Linked DNA regions of Homo sapiens: region 2 is linked to region 1. Evidence: promoter capture Hi-C in 16 types of primary human blood cells and fetal thymus (Javierre and others, 2016). All regions are on one chromosome and are shown on one strand. The core of a region is centred on a gene start or on the middle of the fragment in contact, and the rest is flanking DNA. Distances in the headings are between cores, read along the strand shown.

Region 1 (7,337 bases), core at 4,103-6,602:
TTTGCCCTAGTCTCTGAATATCTCCTCTACACTTCAGGCCAATCAAATGCTCTAAATAATCGAGCTCAAAATGGATGTCAAGACATCAAGGAGTAAATTGTAATGTATTTTTTATATTAATGCTGTCGTGGCCTATTGTTGAGGCCCTGGTTAGAGGCCTGTCAGTTCCCCTTCTTGGGCTGCTGATCAACTCCACACTCTATCCACTTCACTTATCAGGTGTTCACGCTTTGGGCCGCTTCAGACCAGCCCTATCCACCTAGGGGCCAGGTATAGACAGCTAGGGACAGCCCTTATACCCTGGAGCCTGAGAAATTATTCAAGTTAGCCATTACTCAGGGAGCCAGTGAAACCTAGCTAATCCCACCCCACTTGCCATAAGTAAGCTGCTCCTTACAGCTCCAATTTGCTGTTACCCAGATGCAACCCCCTGTGTGGTCTTGCCTGGTAGCCTTCTCTAGTTTGGAGCCATAAGTAACAAAAGTTCTTCCTTTCATTTTTCCAAGTGACCGTGTGTTGTGTCCTGCCATCAAAATAATCTTAAAATCTTATAAAACAACCCTAAATTACACCATATAAAAATTAACTCAAAATGAATCAAAAACCTAAATGCAAGAGCTAAAACTATGAAACCCTTAGAAGAAAGCAAAGGGGTAAATCTTCATGACCTTGGATTTGGCAATAAATTTTTAGATATGACACCAAAACCATGAACAACAAAAGAAAAATAGATGAATTGGACTTCTTCAAAATGAAAAACTTTTGTGCATAAAAGGACACTATTAAGAAAGTGAAAGAGAACCTATAGAATGGGAGGAAATATCTACAAACCATATATCAAATAAGGAACTAATATCCAGAATATATAAGAACTATTACAACTCAACAACAAAAAGCCAAACAACCTAATTAAAAAATGGGTAAGGATATGCAGAAGATTGAGACTGGATCCCTGCTTCCTTACAACATATACAAAAATCAACTCAAGATGGATTAAAGACTTAAATGTAAAACCCAAAACTATAAAAACCCTGGAAGACAACCTAGACAACACCATCCTGGACATAGAAATGGGCACAGGTGTCATGACAAAGACACCAAAAGCAATTGCATCAAGAGCAAAAATTGACAAACGAGATTTAATTAAACATAGGAGCTTGTGTATGGCAAAAGAAACTATCAACAGAATAAACAGACAACCTACAGAATGGGAGAAAATATTAGCAAACTATGCATCTGACAAAGGTCTAATATCGAGCAAGTATAAGGGACTTAAACAAATTTGCAAGAGGAAAAACAACCCCATTAAAAAGTGGGCAAAGGACATGAACAGACACTTCAAAAGAAGACATACATGCAAGCTCAATATCACTGTGGAAAGCAGTGTGTCGATTCCCGTAAGAGTTAAAAACAGAACTACCATTTGACCCAGCAATTCCATTACTGGGTATACACCCAGAGGAATGTAAATCATTCTACCATAAAGGCATATACACACGAATGTTCACTGCAGCACTATTCACAATAGCAAAGACATGGAATCAACCTAAATGTCCATCAATGACAGATTGGATAAAGAAAATATAGTACATATACATCACGGAATACTATGCAACCATAAAAAAAGAACAAGATCATGTATTTTGCAGGAATATGGATGGAGCTGGAGGCTATTATCCTCAGCAAACTAATGCAGGAACAGAAAACCAAATACCAGATGTTCTCACTTACAAGTGGGAGCTAAATGATGAGAACTCCTGAACACAAAGAAGGGAACAATAGATATTGGGACCTACTTGAGGGTGGAGGATGGGAGGAGGATGAGGATTAAAAAACTACATATTAGGTACTATGATTATTATTTGGCTGATGAAATAAAGTGTATACCAAGCCCCTGTGACATGCAATTTACCTATGAAACAAACCTGCACATGTGTCCCCAAACCTAACATAAAATTTAAAAAATAAAAAATAAAAATTGGCAAAGCACTTGAATAGATATTTCTCCAAAGGAAATATACGAATATCCAACAAACCCAAGAAAAGATACTCAACATCATGGGTCATTAAGAAAATGCAAATCAAAACCACTTCTCTCCCACTAGGATGATAAACATAAAAAATAGAAATTAACAATTGTTTGCAAGGATATGGTAAAATTGGAGTCTTGCTGATAGGAATGCAAAATGTTGCAGTTACTGTGGAACACAGTTTGGCGGTTTCTCAAAAATTTAAACATAGAATTACCATATGACCCAATGATTACACTCCTAGCTATATATGCAAGAGAAGTAAAGACATACACCCACACAAAAACTTATACATAATTGTTTATGGTAGCATTATTTATAACAGCCAAAAGGCAAAAACAATCCAAATATCTATCAACATACAAATGGATAAACAGAGTGTGGTATGCACATAAAATGAAATATTAATTCATAAAAAGGAATGAAGTATTGCACATGCTACAATGTAGATGAACCTTGAAAACATTATGCTAAGTGAAAGAAGCCAGACACAAAAGGTCACATATTGTACAATTCCATTTATGGGAAATATCTAGAATAGGTAAGTTCATAAAGATGGAAAGCAGATAAGTCATTGCTAGGGACTAGGGGGAAAAGGGAATTGAGAATGACTGCTTAATGGGTATGGGGTCTCTTTTCAGATTGATGAAACTGTTTTGGAACTAAATAGAGGGGATGGTTACACAATATTTTGAGTGTACTATACATGTCACTGAACTGTACACTTTAAAATGGTTAATTCTATGTTATGTGAATTTCTCTTTTAAATAGAGAATAAAGATAGCACGATTTGAAAAAAATGTATACAGAAGTATATTCTTTGGGTCAATGGCCTTCATCTTTTTAATATTACATACCCCTTTGAACATCTAATGAGAGCAACGGAACCTATTCTCAGCAAATGTGCACATACAATAAAAATGTATATATCCAGCCTGGGTGCGGCAGCTCATGCCTGTAATCCCAGTGCTTCGGGAGGCTGAGGCAGGGGGCTCACTTGAGGTCAAGAATTGGAGACCAACCTGGGCAATGTAGGGAGACACTGTCTGTACAAAAATTTAAAGAAATTAGCTGGGAGTTGTGGCGTGCACCAGTAGTCCCAGTTACTCAGAAGGCTGAGGTGAGAAGATCCCTTTAGCCCAGGAGTTGAAGGCTACAGTGAACTATAAATGCACCACTGGACTCTAGTCTGGACAACAGAGTGAAACCACGACCACACACACACACACACACACACACACACACACAAGTTTGAACATAATTTTAGGGGATTCATAGTTTAATAATGCCTGAACCCAAGGAATAGATGAGCTCTCTTTAACATGGCTCAGCTGCTATTTGTGTCTTCCCCTTCTTATCTCTTTGTCAAGTAGCTTCTTCTTTCTGTCCTTTATGGTTTCCTCTTTTTCATGATGTCAACTTGCTTATATAAAATAAAAACATACATCCACACAAAAACTTATACGTGATTGTATATGGCAGCATTATTTATAACAGCTAAAAGATGAAAATGCCTAAATATTCATCAACATATGATGGATAAACAGAATGGGGTGTGCAAATAGAACAAAACACTATTCAGGCTCCTAGGGTACAGATCTTCTTCTCACAAGAGTGTGCATACTCCACTACTTCCTAAACATATGCAATTTTACATGCCCTTTCAGGTGGCCCACAGACTTCATCAATTGGGAATACTTGGTCTAGGTCAATATGGACAGCATGGCAGAACTCCTTAGACACTGGCCTAAATTTGCTGAGACAGTCATAGGTTAGTATGGACTGGCAGGCAGCAATCCTGCAGCAAGGTTAGGCTCCCTCTGGGTTCCCTGAAGATACAGAGTTTGGGGGTGAGAGGCCCGCCAGACTGCACTTTTTAGGCTAGGCGGGAGGTAACAGACAGGGTCTAGGGAGGCTTCCACTCAGGCACTGTGAATAAGGGCAGAGAGCAGGCAGGTTGCAGGGGACTCTACCCCAGCAATCACTTCAGGCCTCATGAACACCCTCAGCTGCAAGGGTCTAGAAGAGATCTGTTCTAGTTTTCTAGAGGCATGAACAATGCTCCACTCTGTGCTGGGGCTGGGTTATCCCTGTGGGAATTAGGGGGAGGGAGGAGGGAAGGAGCCAAAGGCATTTACTCATATCACCACCTTGGTCACCTGTCCAGTTATATTCTTGGACAGATGACTCTTGAGCAACAGAGTCATGTGCCTGGGGATGAGAAATGCAGGGGATGAGAAATTCTAGAATATGAGGGGGTGGAGAAGAACACCTTCCCCTGATCTTGGCAGGGCAGGGAGGATAGGACCATTTCTGCATCCTTCACATCTCCTGCAGCCTTGGTCTCACAGCTCTTCCCTTCCCCTAGAGCTAAACATTTGAATGAAAATAGCCATGAGCCAAATTTTTTAAAGAGACATTTTTGAATTTTCTTTCAACCATCAGATTCCAGCAAGTCTATTTAGCACTCAGTAATCGTTTGGGAACATTAAATGTGTGTGTGTGTGTGTGTGTGTGTGTGTGTGTGTGTGTGTGTGTGTGTTAAATAGAACGTGAGAGAACCAGCTATTTATGAAAAATTTCTAATGTATATTTTGCTTGTTGCCAATTGAATTCCTTGTGTATATGGCAAAAGTTAATATTATGAACCTAATTTGGTCTCTCTTCTGAGTAGAAAATTTTGAAATCTTTTAAGTTTTTCTCTCTCTTAAACACTTTCTCATAAATGAAATAGCTTTATTTAATTTTGTGCTTATAAGAATAACCCATGCTGAGGAGAGTGAATTAAATAAGATCAAAAAAATTTAAAAAAATAAAACCCCTATTTTAACTACTTGTGTCCCTACTTGACAATCCACCTTGTACCCATTATGAGAAGGTCTGGTTCACAGGCAGAATGAACATCAGTGGCTGCGTGTAGAATTAGATCGAGTAGGTGCCTTCGGATAAAAGGAGAGAAAGAAAAAAAATTCCTCTGAGATGTACCAATGGCCAATAGCTCTAGAAGAAGGTGCGGTCCCTCCCTGATAACCACGGAAGAATAAATACATACTACACAGAGAAAGGGCCACATTTGACCTGTGGGATTAGCAAAGACCAAAATGAGTGACAGGGCCCCGTGCTGTGGGGCGAGAGAGAGAGCTAAGCCGGGGTTGGGGGTGCTGAGGGCGCTCAGACGGACAGACTAGTGAAGGGAAGAAGTGGGCTGGCTCCTGACGCACTTTCTGCGGGTGGGAGGGGAACTAGGGACCCGAGCCCACTGGTGACGTTTTTCTCACGTGATCTGAAGCCGACGTGTGCAGAAGTCCCTCTCCTCCAGGTACCAGATCCCTGTTTCCGTGGAGGAAGGCAGACTTCAGACTGAAGGACAGAGAAGGCAACTGCCCTACAGCCCTGCAGGTCGGTACAAGCCGGGGACCCCTGAGGTAGGGATGGTAATGCACATAGGCTACAGAGGATCGGATCTGCTTTCTAGATACCGCCCTGTTCCACCCCCATTCATTTTGGCGCAGAAATTTTTTTGTGTTGGGCAAGAGGTATGGGTACCAGCTTTTATTTCCCTGGAGAAGTGCAGGCTTCTGGCAGAAGGAAATGTGAGAAAGAGTCATTTCCCCGAGATGGCTACGAACCCATCCACAGCCTGTGGATCCCTGTGGTTGGGATGGCAGAGGGCAAAGACCAGAGCGGGTCCAGGACTGGATTCTCTCCACTCCTTTCCCGATGCTCACTCATTTGGTGCAAGAAATGGAGGGCTTGGTGCGGGGCGGGGAGGGGGGAGGGGGGCGGAACTCGAGAGAGGTCAAGGGTTGAGAATTGGGTACCAGTTGGGAACTCCTAGGAAGCCGGCGACCGGGTGATGTCTGATGGAGGAGGAGGAGGACCAGGGAAGAGAACAGCGACGAAACGGCGAGAAAACGGCCTGATCCCTGCAAGGCAGCGGGAGGCGGGCACAGTCAGTGACCCCAGGCTGCTGAGGGCGGACCCTGCAACGGGTCCAGGCCTGAGTTCCCTGTGTCTTTTCTCCAACCTCCCTCCATTTTGGAGCCGGAAACGGTGGGCTAAGGGGGTCAGGGGAAGGAGGTGCTGTAGAAAAAGGGAGACAGAGGTTTGATCTGGGGATCAGCTCCCTATCCAGGAGGAGTGGCTTCTGAAGTAGGAGGATTGAGATGAGGTAGCAGCAAGACCAAAAATGTTACCGGGTTTGGAAATAATTTGTCTCTTGCATTGCAGAAAAATGTGGGCTTTCTGTGTATGTGGGGAGGGAGGAGGTGGCAGGAGTGTTTTGGACATTTCTGCCCTGCCCCCTATCTCTGTCATCACCATTTTCAGAGAAGTGGTGGGCTCTGCTATTTGGCTACCCTAGGGTGAGGGATTTGGAATGTAGAGATCTGAGTGCATCAGAACACTCTGTCTTCAGAACATCCTTGTCTCTAACCCTACTCATTTTCGTGCCAGAAAAGTGAGATAAAAATTTGGGAGGAAGATTCAGAAACATAGAAACGCTTTGGAAATAATCTTTCTCGCCTATTTCCCACAAGTAGAACAATGGAGGCTCTTAAGAAAGAGCTGCGCGCGGAGGGGGAATCAGAGAATGCAAGGGAAAAGGCGAGGAGGTGATAGGAGCTCGGAAAGTTTTGACAAATACGGTCCCAAAGAACCAGTGTCCAAGTTACCAGTCATTCACTTTCTCAATTTCTCATTCACCCACCTGTTTCTTGTCTTTCTGCAGGTCTTCAAGTCTGTGGTTGTGGGCACTAACCCAGACAAGAAAAGGAAAGACCTGCAGTATCGGTGCAGGTCAGTGGGAGAGGGCTACTGCACCAGGACCCTTGGGAGTAGGAGTAACTTAAGCCAGAGCAGAAGTTGGGGAGGCCACTGCCTGCCACCCCTCCTCCAATCCTCCCTCTTGCAGTTTCGGGATACATGACTGCTGTCAAGACCCTAAGGGGATATGGTGATCTATGGCTGGTGAGGATAGAGGGGAGAATAAGAAAGTAAGAGAATGGAGGTGTAGCATCTGTGATGCCCCCTGAGGACATAAGGGTAGCCCTGAAATCTGAGAACTGGCTATGGTTCTGTTCTGTCTGCAGTTTTATAAGTCTTACAACTGCATGCAAGGGGAAAAAGAAGAAAACTGCCCAGGATTTCTGCAGGTCCGTGTAAATTGGAACTACCCAGTTAAAATTGGTATGGGTAGGCATAGCCAAGGCCAGAGCAAAGTTTAAGGGCCAATATGCTCCTACGCATTTCTCAGCACATCCTCCTTAAATGTAGGGAGAAGCACCTGTGGAAGTTTCTGTAAGGTTG
Region 2 (7,337 bases), core at 1,568-4,067, 220 kb before region 1:
GATCAATAAGAAAAAACCATTTCAGTAAGGAATGAAATACGTACTTATTTGAGAAAATGTTTCTTAACAGTAAAAAAGTATATATTTTTCTCTTTGGTAAAACGAAAAGAGAGGAAAAATATGTATAGTGTAACCCCGCAAGATGAGGCTTTGCAGAAAAACAATGCAATAGAACATGGCGGGGCAGGCCCATTATAAGGCCTTAGGTGAGTCATTTCCCCTGTGCTGGCCAGTTTTGGTTAACACCTCTCAGATCAATATAGAGGTTAATGAGATCACATCTGGGAAAGCACTTCTGAGACCTTAGATGGGAAAGAAGGAGAAGTGGTTTCCACGTAGTTACTTTCCAATTTACACTGTTGATTATTATAATAATTGATATTGGATGAACTGAGTAAATATAAGTCCTTGTACTCTTTTGTAATTGAATGACCATTTATTTGTGCATTGTCATAGGGTGATTGTAACAAAGTCCCGCAGAAGGGCAGTATCTCTGGCCTCACGGAGCTGTGGGGACTCACCCTTCCTGAACGCTGGTACTTTTCTATCTCATGAATTTCCCACAACATTCCTGGGAGGTAGAGGATATAATCTCTACACCATCCTGTAGCTTAAGAAACAGGGATGTTTGCAGGTTAAGCAACCTGGCTGGGGAGCATCCTGCCACTAAGTGGAAAAGCAGAGACTAGCATCCTATATGCCCCCAGGCAGACTGTGATGCTGAGCTGCACATCACAACATAACCAAGCAAATCTTGCTTTCCTGCTGACCTGGGTCACTACTGAAATCTGTATCTTCAGCTCTGAAGCCAGGCTGCCAGTTCTGTCTCTCTTATGAAAGACAGAGAACCTTGTCAGACCTAAATTTCCTACTCTGTAGACAAGGGAGTGTGTCTGGGCCATTGCTTTAGAAACGAGTCCGCAGACAGTTCCTGTATCAGGAAGAATATGCACTCTCAGAGGGACAGGGGCCATGCTGAGGGTGAATACTTGAAGGAGCAGGCCCCAAACACATGCAGATCGGGGATGCATAGAGTCTTTAATAGAAATTACCAAATCAACCTTGAAAGAGGTTGTACTAAATGACATCCCCACCACCAATATGAAACAGGGTAGGCTTCCCCGCATGCCCACCTTACTGGAATCCTGAATGGTTTCTTTTTATACTTTGATGATATGACAGGTGGAAATTCTTTCATTGTCATTATATTTAATTTGATGTTCAGATAACTTAAAAAATTCCCTAGTATACAAAATGCTCTGATAATCATCATTGCATTATATTTTTATTGCAAACTGGTCCATTTTCATATGTAGCCTAAAAACAATGAGCAACAGGCACATTAGCCTGCAAGTTCTCCTAGAGCTACTGGTGGCATTATGGTTCCAGGGTGTGTTTGTGGCCTCTGGGGAATACTGATGGCAGTGTGTTTGTCTAGAAGATTAAGAACATCTCTCTGTGATATTAGTTGAATTCAATATTAGAGAAGAGCTGGAGTCTTTTTAAGTGACACAAGAGCTGGACCACAACATGCTTCTGAGCAGGCTGTAATCCTGTCCCTGTGATGGACAGCAAGCCTTTCTGTGACCTCACCTGCTCAGGTCAGGGTGGATCCCTCCAGAACGTAAGGTATGGCAATTGGCCTAAATCTGCTTCTGAACACTGAAGCTGAGTGCTCCCATCTTCCTGCCGTCAGTTGCAGAGACTGGAGAAGCTGCATCTTCTCAGACACCAAAACCACGGGTTCAGTCACCTGTGTGAGGAGCTCAGTGCTGGAAGATAAAATACCAGCACCTGTTTGACACATCGTGCATCCATCCATCCATCTGTCCATCCATCCATCCATCCATCCATCCATCTATCCATCCCCATAGTTAACAGGCATTAAAGTCAAATGACACCATCCCTCTGGTTAAGTTTTAGACTTCCCCAGAATAGAAACAAGGAAGTAAGGGGGTTGTGGTAAACTCAGTTTCTAGACCTAAGAAGAGATGGCTCCTTCTCCTTAATATTTCCACCCTGAGAGAGCCTCTTATCATTGATAATTTTAAAACATAATTTAAAACCCTAGACCTCTCTCTACAACCCTAGTTACTGTTCTCTTTACATATATTCTCCCATTGCAACCAAAGTTCTATGAAGAATTCTCAATACTCAACTCACATCCCTTTGCACCTCCCTCCACCTCAGTCCTCATTCCTCATCTAATGGTGCTTTGTTCCCGCACCCCTCTGTTGAAATGAACCCCATCAAAACCAACAGCCACCCCTTTGTCCCATTTATAGATCAAGAGTGTTAAAATGAACATCTATATGGAGACAAAGCTTCCCCCGCAATGACAAAATTCAGTTGCTTTTGTATAGACAAAGATTATATTGCAATGCTATATTTACCTAAAAGCTAGCATTGTAAAATAGCTTCCATAAGAGTCAGTCAGATAACGTGAAGGCTGTGCTACAGGAACTGTGCTATCAGTTGAAGTACAACATTTCCCCAACATATCCCATACTATTGCTTCAATAAAAGGAATTTTGCAAATAGATTTACTGCATGTTAGCAATATTTTTATGATCACTTCAATAAATTCTGTTTATTGTTTTATTTCTTTCTGAAGGAATTACTAAGTATGCAATGTAATCGCCTGAAATTAAAATGTTGTTTCAAAATTTGTCGTGGTTAAATATATTGCCTAAAAGCATTGTCTGATTGTTTAATATGCCATAATTTGGTAATATAATGGTGGTGAAATATAATAGTAGATAGAGGGAACTCTTGCAGTCTCCTGATTAGGTCAGAATTCTTCTACTGCACCACACAAATCATAATTCTGGAATTCCTTTTGGAATGTTTCCATTTGGTAAACTATCACAACTATATGATAAGTGTACATGATTCCATACTGATATAAATTAAGTGTTTCCATTGACAAAGAAATGGGTCAGAGAAGACAAATTGTCTCAATCAAATAATTCTAAACAATATATGTGGCTAACCCTCAGTTCATGAGGTGAAGTTTAATTCTGTCCTCTACCTCCTAAGAACAGGGCTGACTTAGTGACTTACTTCTACAGAAAAGAGTATAGGAATGTAAAATAGTTACCACACACTGGAGAAATTTGGCAAACAGTACCTTAACCAAGTGATGAAGGTTAACATCACCATTGATATCATATGGGTAGCATGTAAACCCATATATGGTGTGATAAAAAGGGCAATTCATCTCTGCGGTATTCCTTCTGAAAACCCATAACCTCAGTCTAATAATGAGAAAAACAAGTTATGCCTGTACTTCTCATGAAATCAAGCTTATGAAAATAGTCTGGCCATACCTCAAATGGTTAACAGGGAGTTACCATATGACACAGCAATTCCACCCCTAGGTACATAGCCAAAAGAAATATGCCTACATAAAAACTTGTACCTGAATGTATACAGGATCATCATTCAAAATAGCCAAAGAGTGGAAACAACCCAAATGCTCATCAATTGATACATGGATAAAATGTGGTATATTCAGCAATAAATATGGATGAGGAACTGATATATGCTGCAACACAGATTTTGAAAACATTATGTAAAGTGAAAGAAGCCAGATGCAAAAGACCAAATATTGTTTGATTTCACTTATATAAAATGTCAAAAACAAGCAAATCCACAGAGAAACAAAGCATATCTGTGATTGCCTAGGGCTGGGGGTGGGCACAGGGATTAACTGCATTCAAGCAGGATGGGTAATCTTAGGGTGATGAAAATGTCTAAAACTCAACGATGAAGTCCCAGCTACAGCAATCAGACAAGAGAAAGAAATAAAGGGCATCCAAACTGGAAAAGAAGAAGTCAAATTATCCTTGTTTGCAGATGACATGATCTTATATTTGGAAAAACCTAGACTCCATCAAAAAACGATTAGAACTCATAAACAAATTCAGTATAGTTGCAAGATACAAAATCAACATACAAAAATCAGTAGTGTTTCTATATGCCAGCCAAGAGTGAACAATCTAAAAAATAAATTTAAAAGTAATCCCATTTACAATAGCCATAAATAAAATTAAATACACAGGAATTAACCAAAGAAGTGAAAGGCCTCTATAATGAAAGCTATAAAACACTGATGACAGAAATTGAAGATGACGCCAAAAAATGGAAAAGTATTTCATGTTCATTGATTGGAAGAATCAATATTGTTAAAATGTCCATTCTACTCAAAGCAATCTACAGATTTAATACAATCCCTATCAAAATACCAATGACATTCTCCACAGAAACAGAACAATCCTAAAATTCATATAGAATCACAAAAGACCCAGAATTCCCAAAGCTATCTTGAGCAAAAAGAACAAAACTGGAGGAATCACAATACCTCACTTCAAATTATACTACAGAGCTATATCACCAAAACAGCATGGTACTGGCATAAAAACAGACACATAGACCAGTGGAACAGAATAAAGAACCCAGAAACAAATCCACACACCTACAGTGAACCCATTTTCAACAAAGAACCTATACTGAGGAAAAGACAGTCTCTTCAATAAGTGGTGCTGGGAAATCTGGAAATCCATACGCAGAAGAATGAAAATAGACCCTCTATTTCTTGCCATATACAAAAATTAAATCAATATCAGTTAAAGGCTTAAATCTAAGACTTCAAACTATGAAACTACAAGACTTTGGGGAAACTCTCCAGGACATTGGTCTGGGCAAAGATTTCTAGAGTAATACCCCAACACAGGCAACCAAAGCAAAAACGGACAAATGGAATCACATCAAGTTAAAAAGCTTTTGCACAGCAAAGGAAACAATCAACAAAGTGAAGAGACAACCCACAGAATGGGAGAAAATATTTGCAGACTACCCATTTGACAAGGGATTAATAACCAGAATATATAATGAGCTCAAACAACTCTATAGCAAAAATAACTAAACTGATTAAAAGGTGGGCAAAAGATTTGAATAGACATTTCTCTAAAGAAGACATACAAATGGCAGACAGGCATATGAAAAGGTGCTCAACTTCATTGATCATCAGAGAAATGCCAATCCAAACTACAACAAGATATCATCTCACCCCAGTTAAAATGGCTTATATCCAAAAGACAGGCAATAACAAATGCTGGCAAGGATGTGGAGAAAAGGGAAACCTTGTACACTGTTGGTAGGAATGTAAGTTAGTAAAACCACTATGTAGAACATTTTGAAGGTTCCTCAAAAAAACTAAAAATTGAACTTCCATATGACCCGCAATCCCACTGCTGGGTATATACCCAAAAGAAAGGAAATCAGTATATTAAAGAGACATCTGCACTCCCATGTTTGTTGCAGCACTGTTCACTATAGCTAACATTTGGAAGCAACTTAAGTGTCCATCAAGAGATGAATGGATAAAGAAAATGTGGTACACATACACAACGGAGTACTAGTCAGCCATCAAGAAGAATGTGATTCAGTCATTTGCAAAAACATGGATGGAACTGGAAGTCATTATGTTAAGTAAAATAAGCCAGGCACAGAAAGACAAACATTGCATGTTCTCACTTATTTGTGGGAGATAAAAATGAACGCAATTGAACTCATGGAGGTAGAGACTAGAAGGATGGTTACTAGAGGCTGGGAAGGATGGTGGCAGGCTGGAGGGGAGGTGCATATGGTTAATGAGTATAAAAAAATTAGAAAGAATGAATAAGACCTAGTACTTGGTAGCACAACAGGGGGACAATAGTCAATAATAATTTAAGTGTGCATTTCAAAATAACTAAAAGAGTATAATTGAATTGTTTGTAACACAAAGGATAAATGCTTGAGGGGATGGATACCTAATTTTTAATGATGTGATTATTACACATTCCCTACCTGTACCAAAATCTCATGTATCCCCAAAAATATATATGCCTATTATGTACCCACAAAAATTAAAAATAAAAGATTTTAAAACCCTCAATTATGAAGATCATTGCACAACTCTATACATTTACTAAAAATCACAAAATTCTATCTTCAAAAGCATGCATTTTATTGTCCATAAATTATACTACAAGAAAGCCGTTTAAAAATATGATATTGCCCTGGTCTTCTGTTGTACCACAGTAGTGACCAAACTTTTTCATACAAAGGCTGTGATGTACATCTTTTATATAAATGTGAATGCATGTAAAACGGTAGCTGTATCCCAGCCCTGCTGACTCTTTGTCATATGTTCCTCCAAGGATTTTCCCCTCCTAACACTATCCCACATGTTACTTCGGGTTTTACTCGGGTGTAAAGTTTGATTTTCATCTGATCACTTCCACATGTTCCAACTGTGGCAATGGCTTGAGAGTAGGTCTACAACAAAGTATAGGGCATTTACTGTCTAACAGGATGTCATTACTATTACTTTCTTCACTCCCCTGTGTGTTTTCTTGCATGACTTCACTTAGGGAGTCTAAATAGCACTACCTTGATGAGTGTCAGTGTGGCAATATTTATCAAAAACCTACATATGGACACACTGTTTGCACAAACAATTTCCCTTGAACAAGTTTATCTTCAGAATGTAAGGAAGGATGTGGATAAGGATATGGTAAAAAGAACTGCTATTCTGATAATTCCCTTCCTTTACTTCTGGGCCTTGTGAAGCCTGAAAGAACCAGTCCTTCAAGATAAATCCTGGGTGTTTAACTGGGCCTAAATTCAAATTAGAGCCAAGTGGCCATTTGCTGAGTAGAGGTCACACATGACTTCGAGTTCCCAGAAAACCTGAAAGTCTGCTTAACTTTGGGACTTTCATAGCTGCCTGTTCCTTTTTATGGTGCTTGAACCAACCAATAAGCTTTCACCTATGTCAACCAATCAGAACTAAGCAAGTTGGAATCCTTCATTTGCATAAGTTGACCTGAGTGGGAACCTGGGTGAGAATTTTCTTCATAAAAGACAAACCTTCCCTTTGTCCTCTGGAACACACCTTCATTTTATACTGAAGGCTACATCTCCCCGATTTGCAAACTATTCACTGGAATAAAGTCTCTTTCCTCTAAATTCCTTTTCAGAGAACTTTTGTTCTCAGCCTGAATTTAGGAAGGGAGACCAAATGAGATGCAAAGCCATGAAGGAAAAGAAGGAAGCAGAGGAAAATGTGGTTGTCATCACACACACAATCACGCCAGCACATACACAATCACACACACACACACACACACATTTATACATGGACCAGGCTCTTTTTATCACAATACTAGTATTCTTCTATGACAGTTTGGTGAGTTCCAAGAGGACACATTTGGCTCACCAGTCCAAACAGCCACAGGAACTGTGCCCGGAACTGTGCCCTTCAGCGGAGCACATACTTTGAAAAGATG

Evidence for each region. The method cuts DNA at HindIII sites, captures the fragments that hold promoters and counts their contacts. A CHiCAGO score of 5 or more calls a contact.
Region 2: a contact is called between a fragment that was not itself captured here and the fragment with the promoter of TCEAL5 in region 1, in 1 of 17 cell types (naive CD4 T cells). The highest score is 5.1, in naive CD4 T cells.

The regions. Positions count from the first base shown.
Region 1 is chrX:103,274,765-103,282,101 of GRCh38, reverse strand. It overlaps TCEAL5 (transcription elongation factor A like 5), which reads left to right and starts at 5,352. Exons shown (of 3, transcript NM_001012979.3): 1 at 5,352-5,429; 2 at 6,760-6,827. The HindIII fragment of the contact is 11,652 bases long and covers 1-7,337 here.
Region 2 is chrX:103,491,870-103,499,206 of GRCh38, reverse strand. The region is part of intron 5 of LL0XNC01-250H12.3 (a long non-coding RNA gene); the gene reads right to left. It overlaps RAB40A (RAB40A, member RAS oncogene family), which reads left to right. Exons shown (of 3, transcript NM_080879.3): 3 at 1-77. Among named protein-coding and RNA genes, the nearest start is that of RAB40A, 24 kb to the left of the region's middle. The HindIII fragment of the contact is 981 bases long and covers 2,327-3,307 here.